Linked DNA regions of Homo sapiens: region 2 is linked to region 1. The links are contacts of gene promoters, found by promoter capture Hi-C in blood cells and fetal thymus (Javierre and others, 2016). All regions are on one chromosome and are shown on one strand. Each heading gives the region's core, a stretch centred on a gene start or on the middle of the fragment in contact. The rest is flanking DNA. Distances are from core to core; before and after follow the strand shown. Region 1 holds the start of DNAH10OS (dynein axonemal heavy chain 10 opposite strand). Region 2 has its middle 110 kb from the start of SCARB1.

Region 1 (6,059 bases), core at 74-2,573:
TGCACTGCCCATGTCTTAACACCTCTGAGGGTGGATACGGAAGTTTCTCTTCCACTTTCTCCGTTGAGACCTGGGGTCTATGGCAGGGGAGACCTGAACCATGTTCACTCTGCTAGCTCATGGCAAGTGGGCTCCTAGGTCAGAATTAGCTCTTGCAAAAACCATCAGGTGGCTTTCTTGTAACCCCTGACGGGGCCAGGGGCATGGGAGCCACAGAGCAGCATGGACTAACTTGGTTGGAACTCTTTGATTATGCCAGAACTTCAGGTCCCTTAGACATTGGTTACTGACTGTGCAAATGAGAGCTGGAAACTGCTGTTTCCCCGGGTCCATGTTGTCTTAGAGTTCTTTTAACTGCAAGGAACAAAAGCTCTTTTGAGATGGCTTAAGGACTGGGGACTTACGGTAAAGATGCAGGGACTCTCCAGGTCTCAGTGGCAGGGGAGGTGGCAGGTGTCCGGGCCACCACTCTCTCTGGGGCCACAGGAGTGTGTTCCTCTCTTTGCACATCTGCTGGGTCCTCCTCCCCGGAGACCACTTTCTCTGTGAGGCTTCGACTTCCTGCTCCCCAGCCACTTCGGCTCACAGGGTAGCTGGGGTTGCCATGGTGCCCATTCTGACTCTGGGACCATGCATCTTTCTAGCCTGGGGGCCCAGGGTGGTCTAAGTCCGTGGGCCTTGATGCCCCAGGAATGAGGATTCCTGGGGGAGAGGCCACCGCCCCACACCCATTTCTCTGGGCCATGGGGCAGGGCCACAGGGTCTCCTGTCTGGGCTGCTCCTCCACAGAGGGAAGGTGGGCAGGACAGAAATGCTGGAGAAGGGCCTGGGCTGTCCCCAATGCGCTGGGGAGGAGGCCAGCCAGTGGCCTGTGTGTCGCTGTGTGTGCGCCTGATAGAGCCACTCCGTGGCAGGCTGTGCATGCTCCAGTTGTATCCAGTCTCTGCCTTGTGTCCCTAGGATGCTTTGTCTCAGGACTGTACCTGGAAGGTGCTGACTGGGATATAGAAAAAGGATGTCTTATCAAGAGCAAACCCAAGGTGCTGGTTGTGGACCTGCCGATCCTGAAGATCATCCCCATTGAAGCCCATCGCCTCAAGCTGCAGGTGAAGGTCCCAGCCCCTCCTCTCTGACACCAGGGCCCTTCCTCTTCTGACTGTAGTTATGGCTGAGGTGGTTTCCAACAGTCCTACTTTTTAAAACAGGGGTGCCTAAGCTTTATGGGCTGGGGAGAGTCTTGGAGCCGTGATAAAAGCTACGGATAGCTGCTTCCTGGAAAAGGCGCGGCTGTATGTGTGTGTGGATGCCGGTCCTTCCAGAGGTGTCAGGCTCAAGCTGTGATCCTGTGGTCTAGACTAACCAAGGGGAGACTCCCTCCCTTCTTGCAAAATGCTGCAGACATTGCCTGAGTCATAAAGTGGTTCCCGCTGGTGTGGACAGCAGATGTCTTCTGCTCTGCCTGGGCCAGGACCCACTTTTAACCAGGGTGTCAGTGTGAAGCCAGGTCCCCGTGAAGCTGGCGGAGGGTGGCCCTGAGCAGCCCCAGCCTTGTGCGTGTTCTCAGGTGCAGTCTTGCACAGGGGCCCCTGCCTGTCAAGACTTACACTGCACCTCTGCCTTTATCCCTCTGCACCCTCTCTCCGTGGGGGCATCTCACCTGCCTTTCCCTTGCAGAATACTTTCCGGACCCCCGTCTACACCACCTCCATGAGAAGGAACGCCATGGGAGTCGGCTTGGTTTTTGAAGCTGATCTCTTTACCACGAGGCACATTTCTCACTGGGTGCTGCAAGGAGTATGCCTCACCCTGAATTCTGATTAACCTTTGGGTGAAGAAAACTGCTTAATGAATTCGGAGCCTGGGGTTGTCAGAGTGATCGGGTCTGCTGTCATTTCTTGGGGCCTCTCAAGAGGCAGGAGGGGGACTGACACTGATTTTTCATTTGAAATCAGCCACTTAAATCTCTTTCCATACAAATTAACCTGAATGGTTTTGTTTTTAATACTACTTTTTAAAAGGAATTTATATAATCAAAAAGTAAATATTGGAGAGTATTTTAAGATGTGTGGAGTTTTCTTTTCCTTCTCAGAGAAAACACTTGATTAGGCAAAAGTGCCTGGCATACATAGCATTGGCACAAGTGAGAATCCTAATGTAATTTCCAAAGGTGTGTTTTCGATGATCCAGGTCTGTTTCAGCAGATGCTCCTTTTTGGCAAGAAGGGCTGATGATGTCGGGCACAGAGCAGAAGTGACCAGTCACCTGGAGCCACTTCTCCCCCTTCCAGAACTCTCTGGCCCTAGCTTCTTTGGCTCTGACCTGCTACGGCGACTGTGAAGTTGTTGAGCTTAGTGTTTAGTTCCTGCATGAGCTTCTACCCCCAGCCTGCCTGGGTCTGTGTGGGGTCAGGTAAGGACACAGAACCTCCAGGACCAGTGGTCACTGGGCACCCCTTCCCTCTGTGCACCATGAGGCTGGCCTGGAGCCCTGGCTGGCCACCTGGAGGTGAGGGGTGGCTTCACTCCATGAGGGAGGAGAGGGGCTAGCACGGGCAGCACAGTGGGCAGGGGCCATCAGAGGCAAAAGCAGCTTCCCACAGAAGCTCAGGAGCGCAGCACATTCTAAGGACTAGCTCTGGGCCGGGAGGAGGCCGGAGTCGCTTCTGGGACCTGTGATTGCTCTCCCTCCTGCAGTCTCCTAGCCCTCCTTCAGGTGTTTGTTTAATAAAAGACACAAAACAGAAGGAAGGCAGGTTTAGAAAATAAAGTTTGTTGGGATCTTAAACATTTTGGATAAAACTAACAAAAAAATATGAACACACATTCAGGTTGTGGTGCTATGAGGAGTAGCGTCATCTTATTTAGTTCCTTGAGATACACGCACGGCTGCTCGGTGATCGGTGCCGCCCTGGGAAAGGTTGGTCAGGAGGTGACAGGGGTCTCCAGGAGGAGCTCGGGAGGTGACAAGGGTCTCCAGGAGGGAGCAGGGGCTGCTCGGCCAGGCTGCCCTGGAGCTTGAGGATAAGGTCAAGGTTGGTATGTGTTGCTCCGACTTGAGAATGAATTAGGTGTGTGACTGTGTGGCATCGTGAACATCAGTAGTGACGCAGCCGTGGCCTGGGCTTTGCCTGCAGCGCACTTAGGTTACACGGAGCGGGATCAGAAGCAAGCGATTCGGCACACAGGCGTTTGGCCACAGCAATTAGGAAATACATATTCTGCGGCAGGGACACGATCATATTTTGGTGTGAAGAAGAGGGCAAGAGAAGCAGAAGGAGAATGGGTCGGTAGGTGTGAAAAGTGTTTGGCATGCATGGGATTAAACAGAAAAGGTGTGGCTGAGATTTCCCAGTGGTGCTCACAGTGCATGGACAGCGCGGGGTGGGGCACGGCGGGCTTCACACAGTTCTGTCCGTCCCTGAGTGCTTCCTCACCACCTTGCCTCCGTTCACCTGGTCGACCGCCAGGGTCTTCACCTCGGGCTGGGCCTGCGGCGGGGTGGCGTGGTGGATCCGATGTGCCACCCCGACGTGGGCCTTGTGCGGCTTTTCGCGGGCCGGGCTGTGCTGCTCGCCGCTTCGGTCGGAGGCGATGGGGGGGATGACGAGGGGCCTCTCTTTGATGAGGTGGACCTCGGCGGACTCCCTAGCCAGCAGAAATGGGGTGGGGTCGGGCATAGCATCCACTGGTTCCCGCAAAAGGAGTTTCCTGCTCTCTGCCCCGAATCTGTAGACCTCTTCAAATTCCGGGTGCAAGGGGGCTGAGAGGCTCTTTTTCATGCGGCGGCGAGGCGTTTCGGGTAGCTTGTCTTTGGGGGGCGCTGGCTTGTAGCTGGCCAGCACGGGGCTCCCTGACGGGCTGGCATCTGAGGTCCCGCTGGAGCTCATGAGCTTCTTCTTGGCGGCGTGCAGCTGGGAGGTCAGGTAGGCGATGGTGCTGGCCCGCTGCTCCAGCTCGCTAGACAGCAGGGTCAGCTTGTGACTCTTGGCCTTCAGCTCCTCCAGGTACTTCTTCTCTCGCTCCTTGATGGTGTTCTCCAGCACTGTGATCATCGCGTTTTTCTGCTCCAGTTCTTTCAACAACTCAGCATTTTCGTTCTCTTTCACTTTCAGTTGGGCTTCCAGCTCTTCACATCTTTTCTTTAATTCACTGCTTTTAGAAGTCCCGTCTCCTACAAGAATAAGCCGAGGAAGCAGGTGAAGAACTCATTAGACTGAGGCCGAGTGGTGAGGCCTATGGGGCAGGCGGACCTGTCTGGTGGGGGCCCTGTCTAGGCTGTGGGGGCCATGCAGAAGGCAGGGCTGTGGGGGCTCTGGAAAGACCCCTCCCCTCCCCGAGGTGGGGAGATCGGGGCATCTCAGAGGCCCTTTCCGGCTCTTAGTTCTCTGGCCTACTGCATAAAAGAATGTCTCTGAACCTTAAAGATGCTGAACTTAAAACAGGCAATTGCAGAGTATCAGACCTCAGCAAACACTTAGGATTCAACTGGCCGCAAATCCCTCTGTCTGCTCAGATGGCATTTATGGAATGCCTGCTACATTCAAAGTACTGTTTTGAAACTCAAATGTAAAAAGAATTATCCATGTCTATTGAATTAAAATTCTGATGTTTAGAGGAGAAGAGGTGTGGGGCTGTCACCTTTGCTCTGCCGCTGGCCGCCTCTCTCACCCCCCTACCCCCGTCTCTCTCACACACACACACACACAGACTCTTTCCCACTTCCTGCTCAGAGAGTGAGCTGTCTCGCCTCTGTGGCTCTTACCCTTGGTCCCTCCCTGCCCCTGCCCTAACACTTCGGGCCTCTGCCTCCTTTTGCTGTCCCTGGGTGCCTGCCCTCACCCAGTCCTTCAGCAAACACCAGCCACCTCCTTCTCCTGCTCTTCTGGTGACCTGCAGTCCCTGGTCACCTCACATAGCACCCTTGGCTCTAAACCCTGGGTCACCATCCTACTCCTCCTAACGCTGGCTGGCTGGCCATCCTCCTTGCCTGGCCCCTGGGAAGTTCTTTCTAGACTCTTCCTTGCTGGTCTGGAATTCAACTTGAGCATCAGCTCCCGATTCAGTGTCTCCTGAGCACCACTTCTCCAAGTGAGTGTCCGTCAGACACACCCTCAAGTCCAGATAGCTGCTCTGCTTCCCACATCTTGACTCTCCCAGGGAAACTGGATGCAGTCGCCATCCCTGGCCTCCCCTCCCTGACTGTGCCTTTCTGCTGGCTGCTCAGTGCTGCCCCCTCCCTGCTCCTCCAGCCGGCCTTGGTCCCACCTCCTCTCTGGTCTTCGTTTCAGCCCATCCTGTATTTAGGAAGCTTGGTCACCCCCTAAATATTCTTGTCCTCTGTTCAAAATGGTTCCTCACTGCCTAATAAAACCCAAACTGCCAGATGCCTTCCAGTTCCTCAATCTGTCCTGAATGTTATCTGCTCCCACATAAATCAAAGCTTCCATCACTCTCCCCAAGCCACCACCTCTTGTTCTGTCTCTATTGTACCCTCTGTCCTTGCCCTAACTCCAGACCTGCACGCCCAGTTTCCCTGTACCAACTCCACCACCCAGGGCCTGCCTAGGCACTGGACGCCACTGGACGTCTTTCCCGGGCTTCTGTCTGTCTTGCTTTGAATTTTCCCACCTGCCTGAGCTAGCAGCAGCTCTGCAGCATGTCCCGCCGCCAGACTCTGAGCTTTTGAGGGCCCACAGCTGACTGGACTGGTCTTGTGCAGGACACTTGCATGTTACAAGCTCGCTGCAGGTGATGGGCGCTCCTCGACTTAGCATGGGGTCATGTCCCGAAAAATCCAATGTAAGTTGAAAATACCGTAAGTCAAAAGTGTGTTTTCGATATTTTCAGCTTACCATGGGTTTATCTGGACATATCCATGGTAAGTCGAGGAGTGTACTGAATGGGTATTGCCCCATGCAGTTGAAAAATTTTAAGTTGAACCATTGCAAGTTTCTAGTTTTAAAAACCATGTGTCTGTGTGTGTATGTGCAGGTATAATGTCAGCAAATGACCTCCCTAAAAAGGATGCATGCAGTACTACCTTTCATGAGGTTTCTTCTT
Region 2 (6,844 bases), core at 2,684-5,183, 820 kb after region 1:
ATATCCAGGCGGGATGGACGACAGGATGGAAGGGGCTGGGCCCCAATTACTGTAAGGCAAAGCTCCTGGCCGTCCTGACGGCCCGCCTCCGTCAGCCCTCTTACAGTAGAGAGAAACAAGCTTCTCTCTTGCTTTAGCCAATGTTGCATTGGAGTTTCTCTTCTTTCTCTCTCTCTTTTTGTTTTGTTTTGTTTGTTTTTGAGACAAGGTCTTGCTCTGTCGCCCAGGCTGGAGTTCAATGGCTCTATCATAGCTCACTGCCACCTTGACCTCCTGCCTCAGCCTCCCAAGTAGCTGGGACTGCTGGTGTGTGCCACCATGCCCACGTCCAGCTAAATTTTTTTTGTATTTTTTGTAGAGACAGGGTCTCACTATGTTGCCCAGGCTGGTTTCAAACTCCTGGCCTCTAGTGATCCTCCTACCTCAACCTCCCAAAGCACTGAGATTACAGACATGAGCCACCGTGCCCAGCCTGGAGTTTCTTTGTTACAGCAGCTGAATCTATACCCTGACTAATACATCGAGTTTTCACAAAAGGCCAGTATAGATGGACTATCTTCCAGAGGCTTCTCATCTCTGCCCAGAAAAACAAATATCGAGGAAAGGGCTGGATGTTGCCTTGGAATTGAGGGAGGGAAATCACAGGGTGAATAAACACAGATGACTATCTCAGTAAAGAACCTGCTTACCACAGTGCCTTCCTTGGGGGGTGGTTTGAAGGACCCCCAGGGACTGATGCATACAAGACAGCCGGCTCCTGAGGCCTGGGGCACAGCGAGCGCCGACTGCCAGAAAACACCGTGGCCGCGGGGCGGCTGCACTGAGCCTTGTCAATAGTGAGCACTTTGCCGTGAGCCCTGTCTGGCTTACAACCTGGCATGTGGGCTTGGGCAAGTCATTTCATAGTTGCCACAAATAATTACCGAGCACCTACTGTATGCCAGGCACCAAATAATTACTGAGCACCTACTGTATGCCAGGCACCAAATAATTACTGAGCACCTACTGTATGCCAGTTCTGGAAGCTGGAGACGAAGTGGGGAGTGAGAAATACCTAGTCTCTGCCCTCTCTGACTCAGCTTTGACTATCTTGAGAGGTGCCAGCCCAGGGGTTCTTTGAGTGCCAGGCTGACCAGCTTCAATGCCCTGCAGCAGGCACTCAAGTTCACAGCAGATGGAGTGATGTGGCAGAGGCACAAGGAAAATGATTAATCTGGCAGCGAAAAACAGAATGGATTCGGCTCAGATGATTAGCAGCCCCAGGAGGGACAAGGAAAAAAAAAAAAAAACCCTGACTCTACGATGGCTCAGCAGAACTGCTCTCTCTAATAAATAATAATTCTCCAGCTTTCCTGCTAACAGTCACAGGCAGGATTTCTCATCTCTATGCCCGTCCCCCACCAGAAGTCAGGCATGGCCGTGTGGCTTGCCTGGGCCAATGAGATGTCAGCAGAAGTGATGTAAGTTGCATCTAAGAAGAAGCTCTAAGAAGCAGTGCACAGCCTGCCTCAAGCCCGATGATGCTCCACATGGCAGAGGCCCCCTCTGCATCCCAGAGTGAGAAGACATGGCACAGAGCCCATTGCCAACACACAGCAGACACATAGCACGGGTGAGAGACAAACGTTGGTTGTTAGAAAACCATGAGATTTTGGAGTTGTTTGTTACTGCAACACAACTGAGCCGATACTGACTGATACATCTCCGTTTCACAGGTGAGGAAACAAAGTGTGGAAGAGATCACCAAGGTTACCCAAAGTCAAACACAGAGTAGAGGCACAGACAAGACTCAAAGACAGGTCTGCCCTTTGCTGCAACCCTCCATTCTGAACAAACCCAGCCAAGCCCCTTACTGCTAACCACTTCAATTAAAGCCAATGTCAAGGCCTCCTGGTTTCTAAATGAACAGCCCTGATCATGTTCGTTAAAGGCCCTGTCTGCACAGACTGCTCATTTTATCCGAAGCCGCCAACAAGATAAATGGCCCTGTAACTTATTGTTCTGCTGCAAAGCACCTCACGGCAAGCGGCGGCACAGATGCCAGGAATAAATCACATCTGATCTTCCGAGAGCCAGGCAGAGCGCCCACGAGGAGTGTCGGAGGCAGGGGAGGTTGGCACAGCCCTGGACCTTGGGGGTTGGAGCAGCCCTGGACCTTGGGGGGATTCACTAAGGAGCAGAGAGCTGCAGGGGTCTTTATTAGGGCCCCGGAGCTCTGGAGTATACATTGTTCTTTTTTATCGGCCCAGCACCTATTTCCCCTTCTTGGGGTTTAATAGCACCCCTTTTTCTCTGGGAAAACCATCTCTCCTCCGCTCTCAGTCTGTCTGGTTCCGATGGGGTCATCCCTTCTCCCAGTTACAGGGAGGAGCATGAACACGTGACCTACCCTGGTCAATCAGAGCTTCACATTCTTTTGCAGCCATGACTAGCTCAGAGCAGGCAGGTGACCCACACCAGGCTGATGGGACCCAAACCTCAGACTTCTGCTGAAACTCTAGGAAAAAAGGAGTTCTCTCTTCTAACAGGTTGCTCACAGAAGGAACTTTTCCGTTGAATTACCTCAGTTTCTAGCACAATTACAGGCACATGGTAGGTGCTTGGTAAAAATGGGCTGGATGAATGAACAATCCACCTGGAGTTAGCACAGCTGGCTTCTTGTCTGGGCGCAGCCATCTCTAACTTCAAGACAGCTTCTTCACCTCTGCAGGTCTCAGTTTTCTTGCCTATAAAAAGGCATTAATAACAGCACTTAGCAGTAGCTGATTATATCAGTTAGCTATTGCTGCCGACATGCTGCGTAACAAAAGATTCCCACCTGCAATCACTCATTATCATTTCCGTGTCTGCCAGTTGGCTGGGAGTCACCTGATCCAGGCTGGGCTGGGCTGCCCACCTGTCTCTCTTCCTCTTTGGATCAGCAAGTTAACCCAGGGCCTGTTTGTCTCACCCAGTGACAGAGGCACAGCATAATACAAGGTCCCTGAAGGGATAGGGCCAATACTAGCACAGCCTCATTTCCATTGCCTTCTTATGGCCAAAGCAAGTCACATGGCCAGACCTAAAGTCAAGAGGTGGGGAAATGCACTCTACTTCTTTGCCACCCGGTAAAGGGCACAGATGTGGGGGGTGGTGAGGAATTGAGGCTGGCTGTGTACCCCCACAATGCCATTGTCTGTGCCTTGATGTTGACTTGATCCGTGTCCACCTCCTTCTCCACTAGAATAAACCTCGGAGCACCTGGATCTCTGTCTGCTTTGTTCACGGCTGTATCCCAGCATCTAGAACGGGGCCCAGGACAGAGTCAATGCACAGCAAATCCTTGTGGAAAGCCTGGCTAGCTGCCCCTGGCCTCCCTCTGCTGTGAGGATTGAGCCAGGTCAGAGACCCAGACATGGCATTGGAAGTTATGGAAGCCCCTCAAAGACTCACGGTGCAGACCCCTGCTCTGGCTTTTAAATATCCAGTGGGAATGAATGTCCCATCTCTGACCCTGATGATCAGCAGTGCCAGGGGTCCGGTTCGGGTGAGGGTTGTCACATCTGGGGAGAGACCTGCTGGCACTGGCCGTGTTTGCACACCCATCTCTCTCTCCTCTGACTCAGTGGTCCTGGAGAGGCCCCCTCACAGCTCAAAACCATCCCCTTGGATCAGGAAGGCACAGGTTTAACTCCATGCTGAGGCCACAGACCTCTCTGGGGTGTGCAGGAAGTGGCCCAAAAGGCCCTGGGGAGAGAACAGTCTGCTGGGGCCATGTGCATGGCCCAGGGCGCCCGAGGCCCAGCCCTGCCTGGGCCTCCCATCCCTGCCCTATGCGGTTTTCCTCTTGCCCTGCTTCCCATCTCTGAGAAGCAGCAAAGTCACCCTCCCCATCTGCCCTTCCCTGGGGGAGCGGTCCCCACCCCCACGTCCATCTGGACCTCAGTGCGGCCATCCCTCCCATGCACAAAGCTCCTCCCAGCCCCAGCACACAGGAAACCTCTCGAGTCTGCCCCCGTGGTGCACACTTCAGCACAAAAGCCTTCCCCCTCTCCAGGCCCAGCCTGAAAGAACCAAATGTTCCTCTATTATGCAAGCTCATTCCTCTCTTCCTGCCGCGGCCGAAATTGCAATCTGTGCGGAGGGGTGGAGGGGGAAGAGCAGGCCTAGGAAAGAGAGAGCTGAACAGCGGCAGAAGGAGCATCCCTCCCACCCTGCTAAACGCCAACTTAGCACCAGCTCCAACCCCTCGAAGGCCCCGGCCAGACACCCCAGCAGAGGGGATGTGGTGTCAGCACCTGTAACCAAATATGAACCCAGTCGTCCCTGTGGTTTGCCCGGAGGAGATAAACTCTGGGTGTATTCCCACAGTGAAGAAGAACACTGCTGCCAGCCGGCCATCAACTACAGTGCTTTCATTCCAGGGGGGCTAAGGCGGTGTCAAAGGCACTGATCACCGGAAAACAACATGTGGGTATTGTGTGTTGAGAGCTGGCTATGCATCAGGCACTGTTGTAAGCACCTTACCCGTTTAGTCCTCACACTCTACGGATAGGTCTTAGTATCACGCCCATTGCACAGAGGAGGAAACTGAGGCTCAGAGTGGGTGGCTTCACGGAGGAAGCATAATCAGGAAGCAGAGGATCTGGGGTCCAAACCAGGCAACCTGACCTCAGATCTGCCCCGTAAACAGCTGCTCTGTTAACCCATGGATCGGCATTTGTGTTCCACAGGCCTTTCCTGCAAGCCGAAAAGCCACACCATCTAAGATCCAGCAAACCCACTTCTGGGTTTTATTTATTTATTTATTTATTTGAGACAGGATCACACTCTGTCACCCAGGCTGGAGTGCAACAGCGTGATCATGGCTCACTGCAGCCTCGACCTCCTGGGTTCAAGTGATTCTCCCACTTCTGCCTCCCAAGTAGCTGGGACCACAGGCATGTGCCACCACGCCCAGCTAGTTTTTAAATTTTTATTGGAGACAAGGTCTCGAGATGTTGCCCAGACTGGTCTCAAACTGCTGGGCTCAAGCAGTCCTTCTACATCTGTCTCCCAAAGTACTGGGGTTACAGGCTGAGTCACCATGCTCAGCTTCCACTTCTCGGTTTATATCCGAAAGAACAGAAAAGAGAATCTCAAAGAAATATATGCACACTGAAGTTTATAGCAGCCTGATGTGTTGATTCACAAGAGCTCAAAGGTGGAGGCAACATAAGGGTTTGTGGATGGATGGATAGATGGATGGATGGATGGACGGACGGACGGACAGATGGATGGATAAACAAACTGTGGTCCATCCATACAATGGAATATTATCCAGCCAGGAAAAGGAAGAAAACCCTGTCATGTGCTAACCCAATGGATGAACCTTGAGGACATTATGCTAAGTGAAATAAGCCAGTCACAAAAGGACAAATACTGTTTGATTCCACTTAGAGGAGGTAGCTAGAGTCATCAAATTCATAGAGACAGAAAGTAGAATGGCAATTGCCAGGGGCTAGGGAGAGAGAAATGGGAGTGCTTGTTTAATGGGGACAGAGTTTCAGTTCTGCAAGATGAAAAAGTTCTGGAGATCTGTTGCACAACAGTGTGAATGTACTCAATGCCCCTGAACTGTACACTCGAAAATGGTTAAGATGGTAAATGTTATGTTAGATGTATTTTGCCACAATTTTAAAAAGCGGAACACCATCATTGTTGTCACCATCAGAAGAGTTGCCATGCTTGGACGGCACCTTTTGGACACCCACTGCACTGTTGTAAGGACTTGACTTAACCTCCCTGATAGATTGTGTTGATGGCCCCAAGTTTATACCTCACCCTGTATGCATGCCCTTTGCTGTGTGGCTTTGCAATTCCTCTCACCAAAGAGGTAAAGTTACTCCCCCACCCCTTGAATCTGAAATGGCCTTGTGACTGGTGTCAGCTGATAAAAGTAACAATGTGCTAGTGCCAAGGTGGGCCTTGAAAAGCCTGGAGCAACTGCTTGTACTCTTCCACCTCTGCCATCATCTCAGATCCTACCCAGGCTAGCCAGCTGGAGGAGAGATGTGCAGAGCAAAGCAGAGCTCTCCCAGCAATCCCAGCTAAGGCCACCCTGGAGCAACCAATAGCCAGCCACCCCCAGACATGCAAGCGAGCCCAGCTGAAACAGAAGAACCACCCAGCCGAGACAGAAGAACCGCCCAGCCAAGCCCAGCCTCAATCACTGACCTGCAGATGCATGAGCCTAATAAATGATTATTGTTTGAGGTCACTGATATTTGAGGTGATTTGTTATGCAGCATTATTTTGTCAATAGATAACTGATACAAACTCATATAAAAGGCCCCATCTGTTTACTCGCATATTCAGGTGTTCCAACACAACCTTGTGAAACACCCACTCTGTAACCAGGGATAGAGCTTCAGCAAAGCCTTCGTGAAGCCCACAGCTCAGAAGAGAGAGAAAGATTAAGACCCAAGTGCTCACTACACGTGATTAAGTGAAGAGCCCAGGCATAGCCTATGGCAAGAGCACACAGCCAAGGCTTGAGAGATCAAGGAAGTCTTCCCGGAGGAGGAGTGATCAAAATAGAGGCCCGAAGAAGAAGGGGGAGAAGACAGATTGGGGGTTGCATCCAGGCAGGAACAGAAGAAGTTCCGGGTGGAAAAAACAAGGATAAATGCCGTGGCTGGGTGGCGGGGAGTGCGTGGATGTCACAGCCTGGCTGCTTGGAAGAATTGCAAGGCCTTTGGGAAATTTGTGCTGGAGCCGGATCATGCAGGGCCCTGTGCCCCCCATTTCAGAGCTGGGACCTTATTCTGAGGGCCTGGGGGATTTTAGCCGGGAGCTACATGAGCAGATTTGCACTTGAGAAAGA

The links. The method cuts DNA at HindIII sites, captures the fragments that hold promoters and counts their contacts. A CHiCAGO score of 5 or more calls a contact.
Region 2: a fragment that was not itself captured here is called in contact with the fragment with the promoter of DNAH10OS in region 1 in 1 of 17 cell types (naive B cells); the score reaches 6.0 in naive B cells.

What each region holds. Positions count from the first base shown.
Region 1 is chr12:123,933,661-123,939,719 of GRCh38, forward strand. DNAH10OS (dynein axonemal heavy chain 10 opposite strand) reads right to left here and starts at 1,324. Exons shown (of 2, transcript NR_187476.1): 1 at 405-1,324. DNAH10 (dynein axonemal heavy chain 10) reads left to right here. Exons shown (of 79, transcript NM_001372106.1): 78 at 961-1,106; 79 at 1,675-2,054. The coding sequence ends at 1,821. It overlaps CCDC92 (coiled-coil domain containing 92), which reads right to left. Exons shown (of 5, transcript NM_025140.3): 5 at 1,966-4,170. The coding sequence ends at 3,398. RefSeq lists enhancers at 4,389-4,889, 4,890-5,390. The HindIII fragment of the contact is 4,091 bases long and covers 1,215-5,305 here.
Region 2 is chr12:124,751,365-124,758,208 of GRCh38, forward strand. No RefSeq gene overlaps it. Among named protein-coding and RNA genes, the nearest start is that of SCARB1, 110 kb to the right of the region's middle. RefSeq lists enhancers at 3,889-4,791, 4,161-4,250, 6,735-6,844. The HindIII fragment of the contact is 7,631 bases long and covers 119-6,844 here.